Linked DNA regions of Homo sapiens: regions 1, 2, 3 and 4 are each linked to region 5. Evidence: promoter capture Hi-C in 16 types of primary human blood cells and fetal thymus (Javierre and others, 2016). All regions are on one chromosome and are shown on one strand. The core of a region is centred on a gene start or on the middle of the fragment in contact, and the rest is flanking DNA. Distances in the headings are between cores, read along the strand shown.

What was found. The method cuts DNA at HindIII sites, captures the fragments that hold promoters and counts their contacts. A CHiCAGO score of 5 or more calls a contact.
Region 1: a contact is called between a fragment that was not itself captured here and the fragment with the promoter of GIMAP4 in region 5, in 1 of 17 cell types (non-activated CD4 T cells). The highest score is 6.1, in non-activated CD4 T cells.
Region 2: a fragment that was not itself captured here is called in contact with the fragment with the promoter of GIMAP4 in region 5 in 1 of 17 cell types (non-activated CD4 T cells); the score reaches 6.7 in non-activated CD4 T cells.
Region 3: a contact is called between a fragment that was not itself captured here and the fragment with the promoter of GIMAP4 in region 5, in 8 of 17 cell types (total CD8 T cells, naive CD8 T cells, non-activated CD4 T cells and 5 more). The highest score is 11.4, in total CD8 T cells.
Region 4: a contact is called between a fragment that was not itself captured here and the fragment with the promoter of GIMAP4 in region 5, in 1 of 17 cell types (non-activated CD4 T cells). The highest score is 7.1, in non-activated CD4 T cells.

The regions. Positions count from the first base shown.
Region 1 is chr7:150,351,862-150,357,137 of GRCh38, reverse strand. The region is part of intron 2 of LOC107986858 (a long non-coding RNA gene); the gene reads right to left. Among named protein-coding and RNA genes, the nearest start is that of RARRES2, 13 kb to the right of the region's middle. The HindIII fragment of the contact is 2,327 bases long and covers 743-3,069 here.
Region 2 is chr7:150,434,749-150,439,575 of GRCh38, reverse strand. The region is part of intron 1 of LINC00996 (long intergenic non-protein coding RNA 996); the gene reads right to left. Among named protein-coding and RNA genes, the nearest start is that of LINC00996, 3.5 kb to the right of the region's middle. RefSeq lists enhancers at 3,491-3,590, 3,811-4,030. The HindIII fragment of the contact is 3,219 bases long and covers 1,907-4,827 here.
Region 3 is chr7:150,769,491-150,774,800 of GRCh38, reverse strand. All of the region lies in intron 2 of LOC105375566 (a long non-coding RNA gene), which reads left to right. Among named protein-coding and RNA genes, the nearest start is that of TMEM176B, 28 kb to the left of the region's middle. The HindIII fragment of the contact is 2,439 bases long and covers 2,247-4,685 here.
Region 4 is chr7:150,405,149-150,409,765 of GRCh38, reverse strand. LOC728743 (zinc finger domain-containing protein LOC728743) reads right to left here and starts at 4,090. Exons shown (of 3, transcript NM_001395976.1): 1 at 3,862-4,090; 2 at 1,278-2,182. The coding sequence starts at 2,154. The coding sequence ends at 1,543. RefSeq lists enhancers at 2,768-2,817, 3,111-3,619 and a silencer at 4,328-4,617. The HindIII fragment of the contact is 2,546 bases long and covers 250-2,795 here.
Region 5 is chr7:150,564,273-150,569,493 of GRCh38, reverse strand. GIMAP4 (GTPase, IMAP family member 4) reads right to left here and starts at 2,104. Exons shown (of 3, transcript NM_018326.3): 1 at 2,057-2,104. The HindIII fragment of the contact is 6,433 bases long and covers 734-5,221 here.

The sequences.
Region 1 (5,276 bases), core at 657-3,156, 210 kb after region 5:
TCTTAGTATATTATTAAATATACTATATTATGTGTAATATGATAATATACAATATATTATTGATATATTCAAAATACATTGAAATTAATATTAAAAAGAACACTTGAAAAACATTTAATTTCACAGCATCTAAACTACCCTAAGTGCCTTCCACTGGCTAAGATTCCACTCATTTTCTATGACCTGAGCTGGTTTACGGTTCTAACAAATAGGCACATGGCATATAAAACCAGTGCAACAAATTGGCATGATTTCTGGTTAGAATGAAATTAGAAGTTCTTTTTACTTTTTAATATTTTTTAAAGGCAGTCAAATTTAGCAGTGGAAGATTGTATACCAACTTTAGTGACACTAATGCGAATCAATCCTGATAACTCAGTACCAGCCAAGAAGTTCTGAGGATGAAACCACAAATCAACACGGGATGATGGAAGTAGGTAAGAAAAATAATTCCACAGCATTGTTACTTGAAAAACTATAGAACCCCCTAAGTTTAAAGAGCAACGGACATGGGTTGTGCTCGGCATCTCCATCTAGTGGTAGTTTTTTTGTTGGTTGTTTTGTTTTTGTTGTTTTTTTTTTTGAGACAGGGTCTCACTTGCCTTGCCCTGGGGTACAGTGGTGCAATCATAGGCTGGGTTGCAGTGGTGCACTCATAGCTCACTGTAGCCTCCAACTCATGGGCTGGGATCCTCCTGCCTCAGCCTCCCAAGTAGCATGCACCACTATGCCCAGCTAAGCTTTTTTTTTTTCAGAGATGGAGGTCTTAACTATGTTGCTGAGACTGGTCTCGAACTCCTGGTTTCAAGTAATACTCCCGCCTTGGCCTCCCAAAGTGCTGGGATTATAGGTGTGAGCCACAAGCCCTGTTTATAGCAGTGTTCATCCATTCATCAGGGCAGAGTCCTTATGACCTAAACACCTCCCATTAGGCCCTAACTCCCAACGCAGTTGCATTGGAAATTAAATTTCCAACACATGAACTTTAGAGGACACAGACCATAGCTGGGTTTGAACATATGAATTTGGGAAGGATATAGTTATGGGCTAAATTATGTCCTCTCCCCAAAAATTGTGTGTGTGCATGTATATATATACATAAATGTAGTAATTTGTCTTTCTAAGTAACTCATAGATTCTAGTTAAACATGGTGGATTAGATACATATGTTTATCCCCACCCACTCCTGTCGCATTTGCCATGGTGGACTCAGCTTGTGCACTAGGCCTCAACAGACCACATCAAAATGGAGTCATTCATGATAAATGTGACATAATCAAACTGAAACTTCAAGGAAGCAGATAGTTCCTAAGACAGACCAGGTTTTGTTTTTCTATTGTAAACAGGAGATTCCAGCACAAGGAGGTCCCCTATACTCTCACCTTTACCCACCTTAGAAAACCCACTGTTCTACTATTTCCCAGTAGGATTTGGGACCAAATAAGTACATTTATGATGATGACAGGGTGACATTGATGCCTAAAGTTTTGAGACGTTGACTAAAGAGGGAAAATCATTAAGTTTAGCCCAAAGCTGCCTCCTTATGTGTTTTAAGTTCGGCCTAAAGGTTTCTCCTCCCTAGTGAACAGTGAGCTAACTGGATGTGTAAACAAACGATAACCTACTCTTGTGCCAAACACCAAGTTTCAGCCAATCAAAGGCAACCAACTGTTCAAACCAGGTTCACATGAGGCAAACTCGAAGCTGCAACCAATCTGGCTGCTTCTGTGCCTCACTTCTGTTTTCTTTCTGTCACTTTCCTTTTTCTGTCCATAAATCTTCTTTGGCCACATGGCAGCTCCAGTCTCTCTGAACCTATTCTTCTGGTTCAGGGGCCACTGGATTCACAAATTGTTCTTTGCTCAGTTAGCTCTGTTAAATTTAATTTATCTAAGGCTTCCCTTCTTTTCTTTTCTTTTTTTTTTCTTTTTTTTTTTTTTTTTGAGATGGGGTTTCGCTTTGCTGCCCAGGCTGAAGTGCAGTGGTGTAATCACAGCTCACTGCAGCCTCAATCTCCCGACCTTAAGTGATCCTCCCACCTCAGCCTCCTGAGTAGCTACAACTACAAGCATGCGCCACCACGCTCAGCTAGTTTTGAAAAAAAAAATTTGTTTTGAGACAGAGTCTCGCTCTGTCGCCCAGGCTGGAGTGCACTGGTGCGGTCTCGGCTCACTGCAACCTCCACCTTGGGTTCAAGCGATTCTCCTGCCTCAGCCTCCTGAGGCACGTGCCACCACACCAGGCTAATTTTTTTTTACTTTTAGTAGAGACAGGGTTTCATCATGTTGGCCAGGCTGGTCTTGAACTCCTGACCTCGTGATCCGCCCGCCTTGGCCTCCCAAAGTGCTGGGATTACAGGTGTGAGCCACCGTGCCCAGCCTGAAAAATTATTTGTAGAGATGGGGTCTCACTATGTCGCCCAGAGTGGTCTCCGGCCTCGGACTCCCACAGTGTTGGGATTGCAGTGCGAGCCATGGTGCCTGGCCGAGTTTTTCTTTTAACTCTCCTAAAACCCCATTAAGACAATAGCAAAGGAATAAAAACATATAAATTCACAAGGAGAAAGATGGTGGGGAAGCAATGGTGGTAACAGACTGAGCAGAGCAGAGTCCCTGCAGTGGGGTGCGGCAGGGGGTAAGAGAATTGAATTGATTGAACCCTGAAAAGGCTCTGAACCAAGAGACACAAGGTGCAGGAGAGACGGATGAAGCTGGGGACACTGGAGAATGCCCCCTCAAATGCTCCACCACTGCAGGAGGCCAGAGTGTACTCTGCAGGAACGGAACAGGTAAGGGCGAAAGGGTCATAGGGGGAGGTAAAGTCAAAGTCTCTGTGCTAAATGGTGGCTCTCAGCCTCCTGACCCCACTTGGCCTCCAGAACACAAACAGCCTGGTGGTGACAAAAGCTCTGAGGATTCTTTTTTGGAAAGACTGTACAGGCCCAGAGAAAGGACATGCAGGTAATACTGACATTTGGGATCATTTAAATAAACAAAAAATCAGCCTCGCTGCATGATCACCCTGCAACACAGCCCACCAATTAACAGGGCCCCACCTTCCTATGAAGCTTTCAATCAGGCTTTTTAGGAATGATTCCAACGTGAGAGACCAAAACCACAGCTGAAATAAGGAGATGAATGGAACTTTAAAAAAGAAATCCTATATTTATACGATGGTATTTTAAAACTAGGAATAAGCTCCTAAAACGGAAAGAGCTAGGCCAGGCGCAGTGGCTCACGCCTGTAATCCCAGCCCTTTGGGAGGCCGAGACGTGTGGATCACCTGAGGTCAGGAGTTCGAGACCAGCCTGGCCAACACAGTGAAACCCCATCTCTACTAAAAATACAAAAATTAGCCAGGCATGGTGGCGCAGGCCTGTAATCCCAGCTACTTGAGAGGCTGAGGCACAAGAATCACTTGAACCCACGAGGCGGAGCTTTCAGTGAGCCAAGATCGCGTCACTGCACTCCAGCCTGGGCACCAGAGAAAGACTCCCTCTCAAAAAAGAAAAAAAAAAGAATTCTAGAAAGAGAAAATGGAGAGAAGGAGATTGTCAATGAAATAACATAAAGACATATCCTCCAGCTAGAGAACATGAAAGTGCTAACTGAGAAACTGTCAATGAAATAACATGGAAATACATCCTGGAGCTAGGGAGCAGGAGAGTGCAAACTGAGGAAGCCCACGGTTGCTGAGATGAGGAACAGCATGGGACAATGTACAGACAGGCCCCTTCCAATCAAAGGGCCAGGAATCAGAACACCTGACTTCCCTCCAGAAGCCCCAGATGCTGGAAGACAGTACAGCTGGCAAAATCCCAAGGGAAGATGATTTTTCAACCTAGAATCTTACCCACGAAGGATACATATATATATATGTATGTATGTATTTTTTTTTCGAGACGGAGTTTCACCCTGTCACCCAGGCTGGAGTGAAGTGTGGCACAATCTCAGCTCACTGCAACATCTGCCTCCCAGGTTCAAGCGAGTCTCCTGCCTCAGCCTCCCAAGTATCTGGGATTACAGGTGTGCGCCACCATGCCTGGCTAATTTTTGTATTTTTAGTAGAGACGGGGTTTCATGATGTTGGCCAGGCTGGTCTTGAACTGCTGAGCTTAAGTGATCCACTCGCCTCAGCCTCCCAAAATGCTGGGATTATAAGCGTGAGCCCCCACACCCAACAAAGGCTATAATTTAAACATAAGGTAGAATAAAGATATTTTCAGACATGCAAACGTGAGCATGTATTCCTTTGATGAAAATAAAAATTAATTTTTATTAAATTAACATACACACATGTTAAAAACAAAAAACAAAAAAACTCGGCCGGGCGCGGTGGCTCACGCCTGTAATCCCAGCACTTTGAGAGGCTGAGGCGGGCGGATCACAAGGTCAGGAGATCGAGACCACATGGCTAACATGGTGAAACCCCGTCTCTACTAAAAGATACAAAAAAATTAGCCAGGCATGGTGGCGGGCGCCTGTAGTCCCAGCTACTCAGGAGGCTGAGGAAGGGGAATGGCGTGAACCCGGGAGGCGGAGCTTGCAGTGAGCTTGCAGTGAGATCGCCCCACGGCACTCCAGCCTGGGTGACGGAGCGAGACTCCGTCTCAAAAACCAAACCAAAACAAACAAAAAAACTCAAGCATTTCAAAAGGAAGTAAAAAATAATTTCAACGATAAGACATTCTGGTAAAGGAAAACCTACAGAAACAGTAAAAAGACCAGTGTTTGCCAGGGTTTTGGGGACAGAGAGGGATGAATAAATAGGTGGAGCACAGAGGATTTTTAGGAGGGTGAAATCATTTCCTATGATACTGTAATGGTGGATACACCTCATTGTGGAATGTGCTACAGGGACCAAACTCTAATGTAAACTGTACTTCAGGTAATAATAATCTATCAATATTGGTTCATCAATTTTAACAAATTTACCAAACTAATGCAAAATGTTAATAATAAGAGAAACTGGGAGGGCAGTGGGGGAACGAGGAACCCTCTGTACTTTGTGCAGTTTATTCGTAAACTTAAAACAGCAGTAAAAAATAAAGTCTATTTTAAAAAGAGAAAAAAAGGACGAAAGTTTCCTCCTCCCTGTAGTCCTCCAGTTAGCCTTGCTAGAGTCTGCTGTTCTTGCAAGTTCCTTGTAAATCTTTCCAGAATTACTCAATGCGATGTGCAAGCATGTGCATACATTCCTATTTTTTACACAAATTGAAACATAGCACATTGCATATGTGGCTTTATATCTTTCTTTCTTTTTTATTTTTTAGAGAT
Region 2 (4,827 bases), core at 2,267-4,766, 130 kb after region 5:
GATCCTTAAAGTACAGAGTTTCTATACAAGGCGATAGAAATGTTATGAGGCTGACTGTGGTGCTGGGTTGCACATATCTGTGAATATACTAAAAACTATTGACTTGTACACTTTAAATGGTTGAATTTTGTGGCATGTGAATTATATCTCAAAACTGTCATAAAACAAATGAGATTTCCCTATGCCCATTTTCCTTACTGCTCTGCAATTCCTGCCACAGGTGACGCTTCTTTCTACCCTCCACATCACTCTTTTTGAAGGTGCCACAGATTCCAGCCCCAGGGTCAGCCTAGACAAAATAAGGAGGATTGACTGTGGTCTGGAGCTGGATCAGGGTATTCCTGGGTTCCTAATACAATATCATCTTTTTAAAACAAGGTATTGCACAGTGTGTGAACAAGCATGGAAAATAACCCGTGTACTCAACACCCAGCTCATTAAGTCTAAGCAGTTTGTCATTTTTGCTCCAGATTTTTTAAGTGAAAATATTTCAGATACAGCTGTAGCCCTTTATATACCCTTCCAGTGATGAACCTACAGGCTGCTTCCAATTTTTCCTACTACAAATAAGGTTACAATTAACACAAATACAGATGAGAGCTCCCCTGGAGTCTATACTGTAAAGTTAAATTTCTTTGTCCTAGGGAATGCACATTTTTAAATTCACTGGATATCATCACATTGCTGTCCTGTTTATAAAAACTTACATTTGTGTTTGACAGTGGTTGATAGTTATCATTTCTCTACATCTTCACCAATAGCTGGTATTATCAGACTTTATTGCCAGACTGGTGGGTGTGAGATGGTATCAGATTGTTTGATTAGCTGTGAGGCTGAGCATGCTTTAAATGTTTAAATGTCTTCTGTGTCTTGCCTGTTCATATCCTTTGCCCAATTTTTTATTGGGTTGTCTGCACATTCCTTATTAAGTTATAGGCATTTGATATGCTGTATGTTTCTTATATCCTATATTTTATGTTCCACATTTTTATATGTTCTTCTTTTTTATTTTTGAGACAAGATCTCATTCTGTTGCCCAGGCTAGTGTGCAGTAGTGCAATCTCGGATCTTTGCAGCCTCGGCCTCTTGGGCTCAGGTGATCCTCTCAACTCAATCTCCCAGGTAGCTGTGACTACAGGCTTGCACCACCATGCTCAGCTAATTTTTGTATTTTTTTGTAAGATGGGCTTTCGCCATGTTGCCCAGGCTGATCTCAAACTCCTGAGCTCAAGCAGTCCTCCCACCTCGGCCTCCCAGAGTGCTGGGATTATAGGTGTGAGACACCACATCCATTTTTCTATGTTCTATGTACAAATAGTCCCTGACTTACACTTAGGATTGTTTGACTTACAATTGTTCAACTTTACAATAGTAGAGAGCGATATGCATTTAGTAGAAACTGTACTTTGCATTTTGAATTTTGATCTTTTTCCAGACTAGCAATACGCAGTACAATACTTTCTCATAACGCTCCACAGTATTTCATAAATTCCATGAGATTTTTCAATACTTTATTATAAAATAGGCTTTGTGTTAGATGACTATTGCCCAACTATAGGCTCGGGTGGTTGTTCTGAGCATGTTTAAGGTAGGCTAGGCTAAGCTATGATGTTCCATAGGTTAGATATATTAAATGCCTTTTCCATTTATATTTTCAACTTACAATGAATTTATCAGGACATAATCCCTTCGTAAATCAAGGAGCATCTGTACTAATAATTCACTATTTTATGCTTTGCAGGTGTCTTTTCAAAGTCTGTGGCTTGTATTTTGATGTAGTTTATAATGTCTTCTATTATACAGAACTTTGATCTGGTCAAAATTATCAATATTTTCTCTTATGATTTGTGCTTTTTTTGTGTACCTTAAAAACTGGAAAATCTTCCTCATATTTCTTCTGGAAGCTTTATTTTTTTTCACAGTGGAATTTTTTGTGAATAGAGTGAGATAAAAATGTAATTTTATGACCGGCCCGGAGGCTCACGCCTGTAATCCAAGCACTTTGGGAGGCCGAGGTGGGTGAATCACTTGAGGTCAGGAGTTCGAGATCAGCCTGGCCAACAGGGTGAAACCCCATCTCTATACAAAAAATTAGTGGGGGCATGGTGGGGCTCACCTACCAGCTACTCGAGAGGCTGAGCCGGGAGAATCACTTGAACCTGGGAGGTGGAGGTTGCAGTGAGCCAAGACCGCACCACTGCACTCCAGCCTGAGCAACAGAGTGTTCTTATTTTTATAATTTATAATTATAAAATTTATAATTTAAAAAATTATATATATAAAATTTTATTTTTTCATATAAATAATTAGTTGTCCTAGCACTGCTTATTGGATATTTCATCCTCTACTCTCTACTAATCTGTAATGCCAGCCAGACCATCTTAATACATCAAATTATAATCCAGCATTCTTTCTAACATAGCATATATAAGTGGTATTATAAATCAATGAGAAAAAGATGACATCCTAGTCAAAAAAAATGCTCAAAGCACATAAACAAAAAATTCACAAGACAAGATATGCAAATGGTAATAACTATATGAAGAAATAGCCTCATTTAATTAGTAAAGAACAGTAATTTAAAGCCACAAGATACAAACATTCATTTGCCAAACAGTCAGAGGTTCTACCTGGCATCACTGCCAGTGGAAGAGTAACTGATAAGGTTTTGGGAGGGTATTTTGGCAATTTAGCAGCCTTTACATGAACATATGCTTTCCACTTTTAGAAATTCTACTGCCAGGATTTTATACCTACACTTATAGAAATTATATGTCCACTTCTAATAATTTATTGTAAGGAAATAATTAAGAGTATACACAAATATATGCCATAAGCATGTGATTTTAATTATAAAACCCAAAACAACCTAAATTTTCAAATAAGGGATTGGTTATAATAATGTTGCATGGTATATCATTAAAACACATAAAAAGCAGTTTTTAGATTGGTGATTTTCAACTGGTGATTTTTGTAGCAGAGCCCTGTTTTGCAAATAAACGCGCATGTGAAACCCCAATGTGTGAAAGAGATGGATGTGAGGATGCTCCTGGTGAAGGAGTCAGGCAACCCCATCACCCACCTCCTTCAACATCTTTAGGAGGGTGCTAAAAAGAAGACTGTAAAACGCTCCACGGAACCCTGAAGACAGCACTAACACCAAGTATATTTACCATGTATTGTTAAATGAAACAATTTGCTTTTAAAAAAAAAAGAATTGATTCATCTTTTAAATGTACATATGAAGAGAGAATAAATGAATATATTCCAACAGTCTGGACACCAGTGTATTCACAGAAGGGTATGGAATTATGGGGATTCCACCCTTCTTTTCTGCTTCAATGTATAAATTGCAGTGCTTTTATAATAAAGTGAAAAGCAATGGGAAATGAGATGAAACAAAGAGGCATTAATTCAGACCAGAGCACAGAGAAGAAGGAAAAGGGAATATATAGCTATTGCCAAAATAGTGACATACAGCAAACAACCACAAAAATCGACATGGCACAGATACAGCAATAAACACATTTCTCAGTCATCTGTGGGTCTACTGGCTTCATCTTGTTGATCTCTAGGTCAGCTGGAGTGGCTTTGTCCCACATGTCTTCATTTCAGGTACCAAGTAGAAGGAACCGAAACCACCCAGGGAAAGCCCCCAGGCAAGGGCAGAAACCCAGGAGGCCAGCAGAAGCCTGCAGGGTCTTACAAGGGGCAGGCTGAGAACGGGAACCCTCTCACTTTGCCCCATTCTAGTGGCCAAAGCAAGTCACAAGACCAAACCGAAACTCAATGGGCAGGGAAATACAGTCCGCCCAAGATGAGCAATGGCATGGGTATGAATGGAGGACAGGAAAGAATTGGAGTTAATCCTTCAATCCCTCACAGTATGGAGGGCAGGGTCTGTTGACAAGCAGCAAGAGGTACCCAGGAAGGCAGGGCCTGGCTGTCCCCACCAGCACCCCAGACACCCACCTCAGCCCAAAGAATGGCTCAGAGCCACGCTTTCTAGGCCATGAAAGGAGAGGGGCCCTTTCCCTCGTGACCCCAGAGCAGATGGCAGAATACAGTCTAGGAGGAAGTTCCAGGAGGAACATGAGAAACCTCACAAGCCTCGTGCAGTTTAGTTTCTGATAACCACTTCTCTTTCTTTGTCTCATGTTTCCCTTCCTTCGTGAAGTTCCTAGAAAGTGTAAATTTTTCCTTACCTTTAATTTTTTCTTTAATTTTTCTTTACCTTTTTTTTAAGTTGCCATCTAATCTGCCCTTGAAATGCTCTATTCTGTGCCAGTTGTCCATTTCAAGATGGAGTCACTTGTTTCAAACCCAAGCAAAGTAGAGTCAGGAGCCTAAGAAGGGAGGGTCCTCATGCACATGCGCCTACAATAACAACGATTACAGCCAAACACAGTGGCTCACACCTATGGTCCCAGCTACTTGTGAGGCTGAGGCGGGAGGATCACTGGAGCCCAGGAGTTGAGCCCAGGCTACAGTAAACTATGATCACGTTGCTGCACTCCAGCCTGGGCAACAAGGCAAGACCCCATTTCTAAAAAGAAAAGGAAAAAAAAGGACTATTACAAAGACTCTCTGAAGGCTGTGACACACATATGCCTGTAATAAGGACTATTTCCAAGGGCCTTCCCAACTGCAGCCTGCCACAGGAGTCACTGGACGGCCGGCCACATGTTGGAGCACTCTCACCTCACATGCCATCTCCACTAAGAATCTGACCTCAACTCCTGTGCCCAAGTAACCAATGTTCTCTTTGTTCAAAAACAACTCAACAACTCCTGTGCACTCCTCCTTTTGCCTTTATTTTTTTGAGAC
Region 3 (5,310 bases), core at 2,217-4,716, 200 kb before region 5:
TGTATAAGCATTCCCTTTTCTTAACAACCTCAAGCATCTGTTACTTTTTGATTTTTTTTTTTTTTTTTTTTTTTTGGTGAGATGGAGTCTCCCACTGTCACCCGGAGTGGAGTGCAGTGGCGCGATCTTGGCTCACTGCAACCTTCGCCTCCCAGGTTCAAACGATTCTCCTGCCTCAGCCTCCCAAGTAGCTGGGATTATAGGCATCTGCCACCATGCCCAGCTGATTTTTTGTATTTTTAGTAGAGATGGGGTTTCACTATGTTGGCCAGGCTGGTCTCAAACTCCTGACCTCATGATCTACCCCCCTCGGCCTCCCAAACTTTTTGACTTTTAATGATAGCCATTCTGACTGGTGTGAGATGGTATCTCATTGTGGGTTTGATTTGCATTTCTCTAATGATTAGTAATGTTCATTTTTTCATAAGCTTGTTGGCCATGTATATGACTTCTTTTGAGAAGTGTCTGTTCATGTCCTTTGCCCATTTTTAAAAGGGTTTTTGCTTGTTAATTTGTTTAAGTTCCTTATAGGTTCTGGTTATTAGACCTTTGTTGGACACATAGTTTGCAAATATTTTCTCTCATTCTGTAGGTTGTTTGTTTACTGTGTTGGTAGTTTCTTTTGCTGTGCAGAGGCTCTTTAGTTTAATTAGGTCCCATTTGTCAATTTTTGTTTTTGTTGCAATTGCTTTTGTTATCTTTGTCATGAAATCTTTGGCAGGGCCTATGTCTAGAATGGTATTCCCTAGGTTTTCTTTTAGGATTTTGTAGTTTTGGTTTTACATTTAAGTCTTCAATCCACCTTGAGTTGATTTTTGTATATGGTGAAATGAAGAGGTCCGGTTTCAATCTTCTGCATATGGGTAGCCAGTTATCCCAGCACCATTTATTGACTAGGATGTCTTTTCCCCATTACTTGTTTCTGTTGACTTTGTTGAAGATCAGATGGTTGTAGGTGTGTGGCTTTATTTCTGGGCTCTCTATTCTGTTCCATTGGTCTATATGTCTGTTTCTGTACCACACCGTGCTGTTTTTTGTTACTGTAGCTCTCTAGGAAAGTTTGAAGTCAGGTAATGTAATGCCTCCAGCTTTGTTCTTTTTGCTTAGGATTGCTTTGACTATTTGGGCTCTTTCTTGGATCCATATGAATTTTAGAATTGTTTCTTCTAATTCTTTAAAAAGGTAATTTGTAGTGTGATAGGAATAGCATTGAATCTGTAAATTGATTTGGGCAGTATGGCCATTTTAACAATATTGATTCTTCCTATCTATGAGCATGAAATGTTTTTTCATCTGTTTGTGTCATCTCTAAATTCTTTGAGCATTGTTTTGTAATTCTCATTGTAGAGATCTTTCGCCTCACTGGGGTTGAGAATTACAAAACTCTCCTTGGTTAGGGAGGTGAAAGATATTTTACTGAAAGAGATTTGAAAATGCCTAGGTATTTTATTTTTTTCTGTGTGCGTGGCTATTACGAATGGGCTTGCATTCTTGATTTGACTCTCAGCTTGGACGTTGTTTGTGTATAGAAATGCTACTAATTTTTGTACATTGAGTTTTTATCCTGAAACTTTCTTAAAGTTGTTTGTCTTGAATCTGTAAGAGCTTTTGGGCAGAGACTATGAGGTTTTCTACATATAAAATCATATTGTCTGAAAACAGAGATAGTTTGACTTCCTCTCTTCCTATTTGAATGCTTTTTATTTCTTTCTCTTGCCTGATTGCTCTGGCTAGTACTTCCAGTACCATATTGAATAGGAGTGGTGAGAGTGGTCATCCTTGTCTTATTCCAGTTTTCAGTGGGAGAGAGAGGGAGAATTCAGAGGGAGAGAGAGACAGAGTGGGAGAGAGAGAATCATATTTAAAGTGTACGATTTAATAAGTTTTGACACATATCCATTGGCCCCCCCCAAAATATCCTCATGACCCTTGTCAGTCCTTCCTCCTGACACTTCTCACCCCCATCCCCGGGCAGCCACTGACTTGCTTTTTGTCACTATAGAATAGTGAGCATTTTCTAGAGTAAGTGGAATCACACCATATATACTATATGTACTCCTTTTGTTTGACTTTTTCCACTGAGCATAATAATTTTGAGGTTCACCCATGTTGTGTGAATCAGTAGCTCATATCTTTTTATTGAGAAGTCATATTCCATTGTATAGATATGCTACAGTTAGTTTATCCATTCACCTGTTGATAGATATTTTGTTTATTCCCAACTTTTGCCTATTGCAGATAAAGCTTTATGAATGATCAGGTATAAGACATTTATGAACACATGATTTCTTTTCTCTTAGGAATATACCTAGGAGTGGAATGCCTGAGTCATATTATGGGTGTGTAAGATTACTTTTTAAGAAACTGGCCAATTGTTTTCTAAAGTCATTGCACCACTTTTTTTTTTTTTTTGAGATGCAGTTTTGCTCTTGTTGCCCAGGCTGGAGTGTACTGGTGTGATCTCAGCTCACTGCAACCTCCGCCTCCTGGGTTCAAGCAATTCTCCTGCCTCAGTCTCCTGAGAAACTGGGATTATAGGCGCCTGCCACCACACCTGGCTAATTTTTTTTTTTTGTATTTTTAGTGGAGACAGCATTTCGCCATGTTGGCCAGGCTGGTCTTGAACTCCTGGCCTCAGGTGATCTGCCTGTCTTGGCCTCCCAAAGTGCTGGGATTACAGGCGTGAGCCACTGAGCCCGGCCAATTGCACCATTTTATATACCACCAGTCCCTCCACATCTTCACCAACACTCAGTGTGTTCAGTGTATTTAATTTTAGCCATTCTAATAATCCTTTTTAGTGCTGCATAATATTTCCATGATATGAGTATACCAATATGAGTATCCCTACTGATGCACTTTTACCTCTCTTCCTATGTTTTTGCCTCTAGAAACAATTCTGCAAAACCAGACTATACTAACTGGAGCTTTTATTGCCATGAGACGGAGTCTTTGGAATAGGGTTGATGCATTAAAGTGTATAAATATTTTAAAATAAAATAAATCCTATTGAGAGCTTTCTTAAAAGGCTGTAATAATTTACATTTACCAGCAATGCATTAAAGCATCTTTTGCGTTTCTTCCCAACCTCACCACTATTTTTTTTTTTTTTTTTTTTTTTGAGATGGAGTTTTGCTCTTGTTGCCCAGGCTGGAGTGCAATGGCGCGATCTTGGCTCACTGCAACCTCCGCCTCCCGGATTCAAGCGATTCTCCTGCCTCAGCCTCCGGAGTAGCTGGGATTACAGGCATGTGCCACCACACCCGGCCTTTTGTATTTTTAGTCGAGATGGGGTTTCTCCATGTTGGTCAGGCTGATCTCGACCTCCAGACCTCAGCTCACCCCTAATTTTTGTCAATAGTATATAACTTTTTACAATGCTTTCAAGTTGTTTTGATTTTCATTTCCTTCATTATGAAGTGAATTTTTTTCACATGTGTATTGGCCATTGATTGTTCATCTGTGAACAGTCTAAGGATGTTGCACATTTTTATTTTTGTGAGTTTTTTTGGTAACATAGATTTTAAAATTTCATCTTAATTTTTTTTTTTTTCATTAGAGATGAGGTCTCACTCTGTTACCCAAGCTGGATTTCAGTGGTGCAATCAGATCTCACTGCAGCCTACAACTCCTGGGCTCAAGAGAAAAATTTATTTTTTTATCTTTAAATTTGTTTATGGCATCTTTGCCATATTAAACACTTTAAAGCCATCTTTTCTTTTATAACTTCTGGCTTCATGTCTTGGTTAAGAAAGTACATTCAACTCTTGGCTTGTACATATAATCTCCTGTATTTTGTCTTAAGATTTTCATGTTATTTTTTTACAGACACAAATTCAATCCTTCTTGGATTTTATTTTATTTTTTATTTTTTTAGATGGAGTCTTGCTCTGTTGCCAGGCTGGAGTGCAGTGGTGCGATCTCGGCTCACTACAACCTCCGTCTCCCGGGATAAAGCGATTCTCCTGTCTCAGCCTCCCAAGTAGCTGGGACTACAGGCGGGCACCACCACGGTCAGCTAATTTTTGTGTTTTTAGTATAGATGGGGTTTCACCATGTTGGTCAGGATGGTCTCGATCTCTTGACTTCGTGATCCACCTGTCTCAGCCTCCCAAAGTGTTGGGATTACAGTGTGAGTCACTGTGCCCGGCCTCTTGGATTTTTATGTAGTGTGAGGTAGCAGCCCAGCTTTACTTTCTTCTAATTGGAAAGCTGTTTTTTCCTCACCACTTAACTAAATAACCAATTTTCCTCTGCTTTTTCATACATTTATTCCCATTATTAACTAGGATTCATTATGTACTATGTATATTGTCCTACTGATTTATTTGTGTGTTTTATGCCGATGCCAGACTAACTTATGTTCAGGCATTTTTTTTCCGCACAAGGGAGCCTGAAGAAAGCATATCTAATTCCACACACAAAAACAACAGATTTCAATTGGAATTTAATTATGTATATATCCATTTTGGAAGAATGTATATCTTCATAGTGGTAAGTATTTTCATACCAGAACATGGTCTGTTTTTCTGTTTGTTCAGGTCTTGTTTCATGTTTTTCAATATGGTTGAGCTATATTTATAGTTAAGTATATCATGAATATATATATATAAGAGTATATGTACAGCATAAAGCTCAATAAAGCCATACCCAGTTTAAGGAGTAGAGCATTGCCCTTCGAAGCTTCCCATCCCACCTCCATGAGTTCCTCTCCCTGTCGCTAGGGTATTATTACTATCCTCTCTTTTGTGTTAATCATTCACTTTCTTTCTTTTTCTTTTTTTTGAGATAGGGTGTTGCTCCATTGCCTAGGCTGGAGTGCAGTGGTGCAATCATAGCTCACTGCAGCCTTGACCTCCTGGGCTCAAACGATCCTCCCACTTTGGACTTTTGTGTAGCAAGATCACCTTGTGCACCACCTCACCTGGCCAATTTTTTTTTTTTTTTTGTAGAGATAGGGCCTCACTGTTTTGCCCAGGCTGGTCTCGAACTCCTGTCCTCAGGAATCCTTCTGCTCTGGCCTCCCAAAGAGTTTGGATTACAGGCGTGAGTCACCGCGCCCAGCCTTTCCTTGCTTTTCTTTATAGTTTTGTATCACCTATGTCTGTTGCTCTAAACAATATATATTTTTAGTTTTTTTCCACGACTAACCTTGTCAAAAATGGAATCAGATTCTGTATTCTTCTGGGAAAAGAACGGTTCTTCTTTGATTAAACATTATGTATATGATATTTATTCATGTTGATGTAGGTAATTGTGTTTTGTTCATTTTTCCTGCTGAATATCATTCCACTGTGTGGATATTCTATA
Region 4 (4,617 bases), core at 273-2,772, 160 kb after region 5:
TGCAGGTCCCCTCGAAGCCCCAGCTCCCTTCCTCCCAAACCACTCCCAGGGATGCCATGTCCCCTTCAAACACCCGTACCACCCCTAACACCCCTGCCCCAGCTCCTATCACATGGCCCCAAATCCTCCCTGCTCCATCGTCCACTTTTTAAGCAGTGAAGCTAAAAGGTTCTGGGATTCAGAATCCAAAACAAAGCCCTGGCTTCCACCTGTTGTACCCCTAAGTACCAACTGTGGTGTAGGCAAGCTTGGCAAACCTGTTTCCTCATCTGCCAAAAGGCTGAAGAGGCCCGTGCCTCAGAGCGCCAGCTTGGAACCAGAGGTCCTGGAGCAGAGTCCTGGCTGCCCCCTTTCTCACTGCCAGACCTTGGCCAGGCCTCTTAGCTGGGGGCCTTATGTTCTCTTGCCCAGATGACCCAAGCCCCTCGAGGCTCCAGCTCTTCCCACATCAGTCTGTCCTCACAGTGCCTCTGATTCTCCTCCTAAAGCATAAGTCTGAGATCATAGCACTCATCTCATTAAAAATCTCAGTGTCCCCACCCCCTGACCACGAAGTCCTTTGTAGGGCAAACCTCCCCTTGGGACACCTGGAGACAGTCACTGAACTATCAGGACCCCCCCTCCCTTGAAAACACCCTTCTACACACTTGCTCTTCCTAGAACAATTTTATTTGTCCCCATGACCTGGTTCAAAGCCATCAAACTCCCCTGGGTGACGAAGAGAAACCAGTCACCCTCCTCGGTCTCACCCCAGAGCACTTTGTAGGTTGGCCCCGCGTCACACACCGAGTGTGAGCACCCCGTGTCAGGGCCTGCGGTCCTCATGTGTGTCTCTGGGAGAGCCCAGCCCGGCACAGTCAGTGGCACATGGTGTGGCAGAATCAACTAAGGCTCTGTGCACCAGTGACCTCACCCTCTCTCATCCAGTAGCTGCAATATATCCCAGCGAGGAAGAGTCCCTCATCTATATCCCCAACTTACAGATGAGTAAACTGAAACATGAAGTGAAATGACATCTCAAGGACAGCAGAGAGTGTGTACAGGAGCCAGGAGGCCTAGGGGCTGAGGTTGGGCGTGGGGTTTGTGGAAAGTGGCCTCTCCAAGTCTCTTTCAACTCTGACATTCTGGGGATGAAGATCCGGTAAGCAGCTCATCACAGAGAAACCTACAGCCCGGTACCCAGACCGCCCCACCTGCCATCAAGAATCAACACCACGCACTCCACCCCCACCACTCCCAGCCCTGAGAGGGGCTCTGGCCAGCCCCGCAGGTCTCACCTGCTCTAGGCCGGATGGGCCAGAGAAGGAGAACCATGGCAGGAGCCGGAAGCAGCTGTGCGCAGCCAGCCAGAGGGTCCCGAGGGAGGAACGCGAGCGGGCGGCCGGAGCCTGGCGGCGGCCCACACCTTCAAGAGCCCAAGCCAGCGCTGCCCCTCTCCCGGGATCCCATCTAGAGAGGGAGCTGCGGCCCAGGGCCATCTCCAGGGGTCGGGGACGCACGTGCGGGGCGGGAAGCAGCCGTCGGCAGCAGGCCCCGGGCGCATCATAGCACGCGTCCTAAGTGGGCCGCCTGGCCCTCGGGCCCGTGGCCGTGGCTGCGCTGATGGGTCTTGAGCGAGCCCTCGCGCGCGAAGCTCTTGCCGCAGCGGGGGCAGAAGTAGGGCCGCCGCTCCCCGAAGACGCCGGGGCGGCGCGGGTGCGGCGCGGGCATGCGCGCGTGGGTGCGCTGGTGGTTGAGCAGGAAGCGCGGCTCGCGGAAGCAGCGGCCGCACTGCGCGCACTGGTGCGGCTTCTCGCCGCTGTGGATGCGCTGGTGCGTGAGCAGGTTCTGCTTGAGGCTGAAGCAGCGGCCGCACTCGGGGCAGGGGAAGGGCCGCTCCCCGGTGTGCGTGCGCTGGTGCACCTCGAGGTTGTGCTTGACGCTGAAGGCCTTGCCGCACTCGGGACACACGAAGGCAGCCGCGCGGCCCGCTCCGGCGTGCGCCTTCTGGTGCCGCACCAGGCTGGGCTGCTGCGAGAAGGTCTGGCCGCACAGCGGGCAGCGGTAGGGCTGCTCCTCTGCAGGGTGGTGGATGACCAGGCCTCGCTCGTCCCCCAGACCCTCCTCCCCGTCCCCCGCAGGGGACCCGCCCCCGGAGGACGCCAGCTCGGTCATGGGCACTTCCAGCTGCAATCACCAGTCCCTAGGGAGACAGAAGCGGGGGCGGGGGTGGGGGGTGGAGAGAGAGGGGTCGGGGAACACGAGGGTTAGCCAACCCCCAGCCTGGCAGGGACACTCACCTCCCACAACCTCCACCTTTCGCCCCGTTTTGTTCAAGCTCAAGTTCCCCTGCTGGGAATTGGTGTTCCTCTTCCTCCACTGCCTTTTAAGCACGGCCTACACTCCTTCCAGTCCCTTCCCAAGGGCACCTTCTCCTAGAAGCCTTCCCTGACCTTTCCACCCCGGGCTTAAACACCGTGTGACACAACCATGTGGCTCTCACTGATCATACTGCACGAGGGTCAGTCATGCCACCTCTGTCCCCCGACTCCCAGCACCCTAAGGACAGAGCTGCCTTCTTTCAACCCCAGCACCTAGCACCATGCCAGCCAGCCACACAAGACACTAGACAGATGGTGATGAGTTTCAGTTAGGATTTTCAGTTTCAGTTTCAGCTAGGATTTTCAGTTACCTTCGTCTAGATATGTCTTATCCCTCCAACCAGATCTCAAGGACAGGGGGAGGTAGGGAAGTGCACCCCAAACTTGGAGAAAAGGGTGGCATTATCAGTGATTTAAAGATATTTTTGTGAAGCTTAAAACAGGAAAAAAAACACAACCCTGTAAACTTGAAAGTGACCTCGGTTAAACATTAAAGGCGGCAGCTCTTTGTTTATCAAAATGAGGCATGTGTTCAAAAGGTTTCCAAGTCACTGAACCAGGGTGTGGGCTCCCAGGGGGACTGGTCTCAGCGTGATTCCTCTTGGTATCCTCACAGCAAAGCCTGGCCCAAGGCTGAGCAGCACCCTCAGTGCCCAGCCAACACCCCCAAACCCAGCTCCCTTCATGCTGCTTCTCCAAAGGATCCTCTTCCCAGGACACTGTGTTCCTCTTAAATTGTTTCCCATTGTCCTCACAACAGCCCTGAGAAAGGGGCGGAGCAGGGTTATTGAGCCCCACTTTAAAGATGGGGAAACTGAGGCTCAGTGAGGTCAACATACTTGCCAAGGTCACAGAGCAAGGTGAGCCTGGACTAGGCCTTAAGTCTCCTGTCTCACTGTTGAAAGCTCTTTTCAATGTACTAGCTGCTCAACAACTAAACACTCCTCAAAACACACACACACCCCCCACTGCCACCATCCCAGCCGTCACAGAGCCATGCATTCCAAAGGGCCACTTCTCCTGTAGATGCACTGTCTACTGCCACCACTCCCACGACCCCCACCAAAACTTGGGCTCCTGCAGGGCCCTAAGGCCTGCCTCATCCATTCTCCCCAACCCCATCAGGGAAGCCGGCTGAATATTCCACTGGACCTCCCCGAAGGCCTCTCTTCACTTCCAGCCTCAGTCAACCTATCTGCAGAGTGGGGTCTCAGGGCCACCTCCTCTGTCTTCCGTACCCTCGAGGCCGGGGTGGAACTGACCCTGGGGAAGGAGACAAGTCCTACTTGCAAGAGACCCCACCCACAAGTCTTTTCCACAGGCAGCTGCACTGACATCTGCAAAGACAGATCATCAAAGTCCCCTTGGCCAATCTCAGCCCGGCCCTGTGACTGGGCAGCCTCCTCACTCTCCCCAGCTATACCCCTGACTGAGGCCCCGCCTGCACGCCGAAAGGCCCCCCGTCTCTCCCCCAAGTTCTTTCCTCCCATGCCACACTCACAGCCCAGCTGAGCCCCTGCTCCTCCGGTCTCCGGCCGCAGCTCTTTGCTCTACAGTCTGCGCTGCTCAACGCAAATACGGTAACTCTCCCGCAGCGACACCCGCGCCCCTTCTCCCCGCCCCCATAAAGACGGCAAGCGTCCCGCGACGTTGCTCTTATCAAATAGCTGCATTAATCGGGAGAGCTGACCCCACCCCACCCGACCTTACACACAACCTTGCCAACTTCTGCGGCCGGAGCAACCCTGGAGAAATATGGTAAACTCTGCGTCGCAACCCCACCCCCACGAAAATACGTAGGCCTCCACCCTGCTGCCGCAACCCACCCCGCCCGACTGCAAGCCCCAGCTCCCAGAGGGAATGAATGCAGCCCACCCCCCACGGCCGCAGCGCCCCCCCGCGGAGCCACGCAACCCTGGATAAATACGTAATTAAGTCCCGGCGCTCCCACTCCCGGAAAGGACCTGCGCGGGACCCGGCAAATACGGTAGCACGCCCGCAGTGACCCGCCCCCGAGGGTCCGGCTCTGGCCTCGGTAAATACGGTAACCTCCCGCCGCGGCCCCAGCGCGGCCCCGCGCGCACTCACATGGCGCCGCCTCCCGAGCCTTCCGTCTCCGCTGCAGCGCCGCAGTCGCCGGCGTCGTCGCAGCCGCACAGCAGCCCCGTGAGGCTGGGAGGTCTAACTCTCCGGCAGCCCGGCTGGCGGAAAACGGGGCTGCCAGCGCTGCGCCCGCCCGGGCCGGAGCGGCGACCAT
Region 5 (5,221 bases), core at 855-3,354:
AACAGAACCTGGCCGAAATTAAGCCCTGACCTCCACATCCTGTCTGCCTTCCTGGCTCCCCGCTCAGCAGATGGCACCAACATCTAGCCCCGTGGCTCCTGCAGAACTTTGGGGTCATCTACAACTCTTTTATCCTCTCTCTCTCATCAGCCCATCACCAAATCCTATTGATTCCACTTCCAAAAAACTCGAAATTACCCATTTCTCTCCATCTTTGTGCTAATACAACCCACTGTCAATTGTATACAACTTAACAGGCTTCTAATTGATCATCTCCCCTTCAATCCCTTTTCTACTCTACAATCAGATGTTCTTTTAAAACTAAAATTTGATATTTTTTCTTGTTTAAATTTCCTAGTGGCTTACTATTGGTTTCAAAATAACTGAAGTCCTCAGAATGGCCCATAGGCCCTGTGTGATCAGCTCTCTCCTCTCTCCTATGTGTGAGCCACACTACCCTCAATGTTCTGGAAATCTAGGCTCCTTCCACCTTCAAGGCCTTTGCAGTTATCATTCCTTCTCTTTGGAGCACTCACCCTCCAACCTAGTGCCCAGCTTGTTCCTGCTCAACCCGCAGGCCTCGGCTCTCCAGAGAGTCTTCCCCAACACCACTGTCTACCAGCAACACCCTCTGTTATGATCCACTGCACCCCAGAGGCTTCTTACAGAATATGTATTACTTTAGGAAGTTAATTGCTTGATTTTTTTACTGTCTCCTCTTATACTACAAGCTTTGTGATGAGAAGACCACATATGTCTTGTATTTCTCATTATTCCCTGGGGACAAGCACAATACTGGGCAAAGAATGGTTATCGATCATTGTTAAATAAATAAATGGATAATCTCCCTGCTTCTTGCCTTTGATTGATCATTATGTCCAGCCCACATCTGATCTGTGAAAATGACAATCCATTCCTTTATTAATTAATATGTAGTGTTATAGAAACATGGTATTAATTTTAAATGTTTTATTTCATTGCTACCTACAAACATTTTGCAATGGAGAAAGATATTTGAAGAACTCTTATTGGAGCAGACTTTGAACAAAACAGGCAGAAAATGGTAGTTGTTAAAGACAGAGTCACCTCATAGGAAGCCAACAAATATGAAACACTGTGAAAAGCCAGATATTTCTTTTGAATGACTATTTCTTTATCCTTCAAGAATAGGGTATAGGAAACAGCTTCTTGTAAACAAGAGAAATCATGGCATTTTTTAAAAATCAGCTTTGGTGGCTGGTGTTAGGAGAGAGGATAGGACACCAGCAAGAAGAAAACAATACTGTGACATTCTGGGTTTTTGTGACATTCTCTGGGTGTTTCTTCATATCCTCCTTCTAGTGTGTGGGCTCTTTAATGCTGCTCTGCTGTTAATAATTCAGAGGCAAAGCCAGGAGACTGTGCTTCTGTAGGTGCTGACTTCAGGTGGCTGAATTCTCCTCTCTCTGCCTAAGGAACAAGCACCCATCAGCATCCAGCTTCTCCTGAACTGTAGAGAGTCACACCAGGTGGCATCTCCCTCCTCCTACCCGCTAAAGGGGAGCTCAATGCCCAGTAAACCCAGGACTGTCCCTGAGGAGACAGTTTCCCTAACGGGCAGCTCCGAGCAGACAGTTAACCCTGTAACAAGACCTCAGACTGCAGAGCCTCCAATCCTGACCTGGGTGCAGTCTTTGTGGGGCCACATATGGAGCTGTGCCCCTTACACATCCCAATGTTCCTCTTCCCACCAGCTCCCCCAGAGCTAATTCTGTCCGCTCACCCAACTTTATCCCTGGAAGAATCAAAGTTTCTATATAAATTCCACAACCAGCGAGAGGAAACATTTATTTGTAAAACAAGTATCCTCTGAGCAGCAATCTCTGGAAGAGGCATTGATTTGTAGGGCTCAGCCTTGAAAACAGATCACAGCCTAAAATTAGCAAAGCCAGGAAACGGGAACCAGCGAGAATATAGTCTGAAAACATGTTTACCAGACGATTTAAGATACAGGTCCCTCCTCACCAAAATCGCACATTCGTCCCGACCCCCACCACACACACCCCTATTCCCTTACCTGAAAAATCAGGATCTTGCACCCCTCTCTGATTTTGCACACAATACTAAGCCAGGATGTTGAGAAACAGGAGAAGAGAGGAAGTGAGGGGAGGAGCTGTCCAGATTTACTTGTGCAAGGGACCTGCCCACCTGATCATCCAGCAGCTCTAATAGAACTTTCTGCAGGGATGGGGTTGTTCTGTGCTGTCCAAGATGGTGACCCTTAGCCACACGTGACTACTGAGCGCTTGAAATGTGACGAGTGTGATTGCAGTTCTGAATTTTAAATTTTATTTTGTTTCAATTTATTTAAAGTTAAATAGCTACTCCATTGTCAGAATTCTAAAAGGCAAAGTCAGGCAGAACAACTTGCACCAGGCATTTTCCCCAGAAGGAAAGAAGGAATATTCAGCTTGGTATGCCTGGTGGCTACCATACTGAACCTTGCAAAGGCTCTGCAGTGAGACAAAAAACATGGGTCATGCTGTGACATTCTGGAAGAAACTTCTGGGCCAAAACTAGAGAGTTATCAGTTATTCTGAAAGACCCTTGAGCCCCTGAACCCCTGCTCAGCACAACAGGCCTCCCAGCTAAGCCCCCATACCCCTTTCTCCCAGTACCTCAGGTATGTCCTCTGAGTCCACAGTGTGTCCTTATTTCCAGGGTATGTCCATGAGTCATCTGCTAGAAGCAAAAGAGAGTAAATGACTTTCACTGGACTGACTAGGATGGGCCCAAAATTCACCTCCTGAGATGGTCCTGGAACCACTGAAATATTCTAAACACTGACATCTGACACTACTTACCACTAAAATGGAAACTTTGAGAGTATTGTAATGGGGTCCCAGCTCACCGTTATAACCAGTTATTTTTCCATTGTAAAAGGGGTCTCAATTTACCATTATACCCCACAGCTGAGACCTTATTTAGAATTACATAGCACTTTAGTAATTATAAAATTGCTAATAATTCTAAAGAGAACTGTAAGAGAAAGACATACATTTCTTTGAGGATAGAATGTGATTGGCCCTGGGTATACAAGCACAGGATGGCTACACTAAAAAGCAGAACAAGGCAATGGAATACATCTTGCACCAACAGTAAGGATAATTTACATTCCAGAGCAACATGACTTAAATAACAAAGACCACTTGGTCCCTTGGTTTGACAGGCAAACGAAGGCAAGTCCAAAAGAACAGGCAGCATGAGAAAGCATCTCCGCGATTCTGAACTGAGATACCTTAAAAGACTAGGATTATATTTTGTTTCTGAAGCCTAAACCTGGCTAGAAGGTATATATTATTCTATTTAATTACAGAAATTGATGCAAAATATAGTATTTATTTTTAGTACTATTAAAGCACTGGATCATTACTTAGGGAATCTTTATTCAGGTTACAGGGATCACTGCAGTAGGAAAGTTCTCTGTTAGGGACTACATTTGCAGTGAGCACCACGTTTCATCTAATGCTTTAACAATAAAGCAATGTGTAGACAAAAATGTCTACATTAAAGATCCAGAAATGAAAACAATAATTTGTGATACCACATTAAAAATTTAGAAAAGGAACAGCAAATTGAACCTAAAGTAAGGAGGATGAAGGAAATACTAAAGGGAAGAAATCTTGAAACAGAAAAAAAAAATAGAGAAAACCAATAAAATCAAACATGAATTCTTTGGAAATAATTAATAAAATTGATAAGCCTCTATCTACATAAATCAAGAAAAGGGGCAAAACATACAGTATACAAGTTATTAATATCAGGAATGGGAACGAGATCATGCAGGCATTAAAGGGGTTGGGCCTGATCACCTCAACATCTAGCTCCAGTTAAAAAAGGGGGAGAATCAGGAGGTTATGTATGCTAACCTCCAAAAACATATGAAAGAGACAGTTCAACCTACTGCACCCTCAGGGGAAGCTCCGGAATGGCCACCCCCACCTAAGCCTTGTGAACTGCAGGCATGGGAGCCTGAGATGCCGTTTGCGGCACCTGTTATTGCACAACCTGCCGTTAACTATGGTAAAAATCAGACTCAGCCACCAGTTAATTACGGTTAAAAATTCAGACTTGTCCACCTGTTAATTATTCCAAAGAGATGCTTCAGGCTCCTCCCAACGTTAAATATGGGACAATTCAGGCTTCCATTCATCAGGCACGAGAAAGTGGGGACTTGGATGCTTGGCAGTTTCTGGTGACTGTCATACCAGAGGAGCAGCCTGGACATGCTCAGTCACACTGGGAGCCATTCCCTTTTAAAATATTGAAAGACTTAAGGCAAGCAATTGGACAATGTGGGCCAAATTCTCCTTATGTTCATTCCCTATTACAATCTGTGGCTTACAACCAGCACTAATGATTGAGGAAAAAATACAACAAGCTCCATTCACCTACAGGGGTTATTGCTCAGAGTGAGGACTTGGTTGAATGGTCTTTTTATAGTTCCAATGAACAAAAACCAGATTCGACAGGTTTTTATTAACTCCTTTAATTGGCAAGTAAATTTATTGGCAAGTTAATTGGCAAGCTGAATTCATAGGAAACCTTAACAATCATTATCCAAAAAATAGGATTTTTCAGTTTTTAAAATTAACTACATGAGTTCTGCCAAAAATTACCCATAATGCTCCCTTAGAAGGAGCAGTGACTGTATTTACAGACGGCTTTAGTTCTGGAAAGGCAGCCTGTGTAGGACCTAAAAATTGAATTATTCATACTAATTTCCATTCAGCTCAGAGGGCTGAATTACAGGCAGTTATAACTGTGTTGAAAGATTTTAATCAGCCTGTAAATATTGTCTCTGGTTCGGCTTACGTTGTTCAAGCCACTCTAAACATAAAAACTGCATTAATTAAGTACATTGTTGATGAACAACTTTATCAACTGTTTTCTTCCTTACAGAAGGTGGTGCATCATCAAGGTTTTCCTTTTCATATTACACACATCCAAACACATACTAATCACCCTGGGCCCCTTGTAAGGGCTAATAATCAAGCTGATTTATTAGTTTCTCCTGTACTCACAGATGCCCAAGACTTTCACTCCTTAACACATGTTAATGCAGCAGGACTTAAACAGAAATATCAAATCACCTGGAGACAAGCAAAGGACATTGTACAACATTGTCCTCAGTGCCAAGTATTACAATTACCACATCAAGGAACTGGTGTTAACCCTAGAG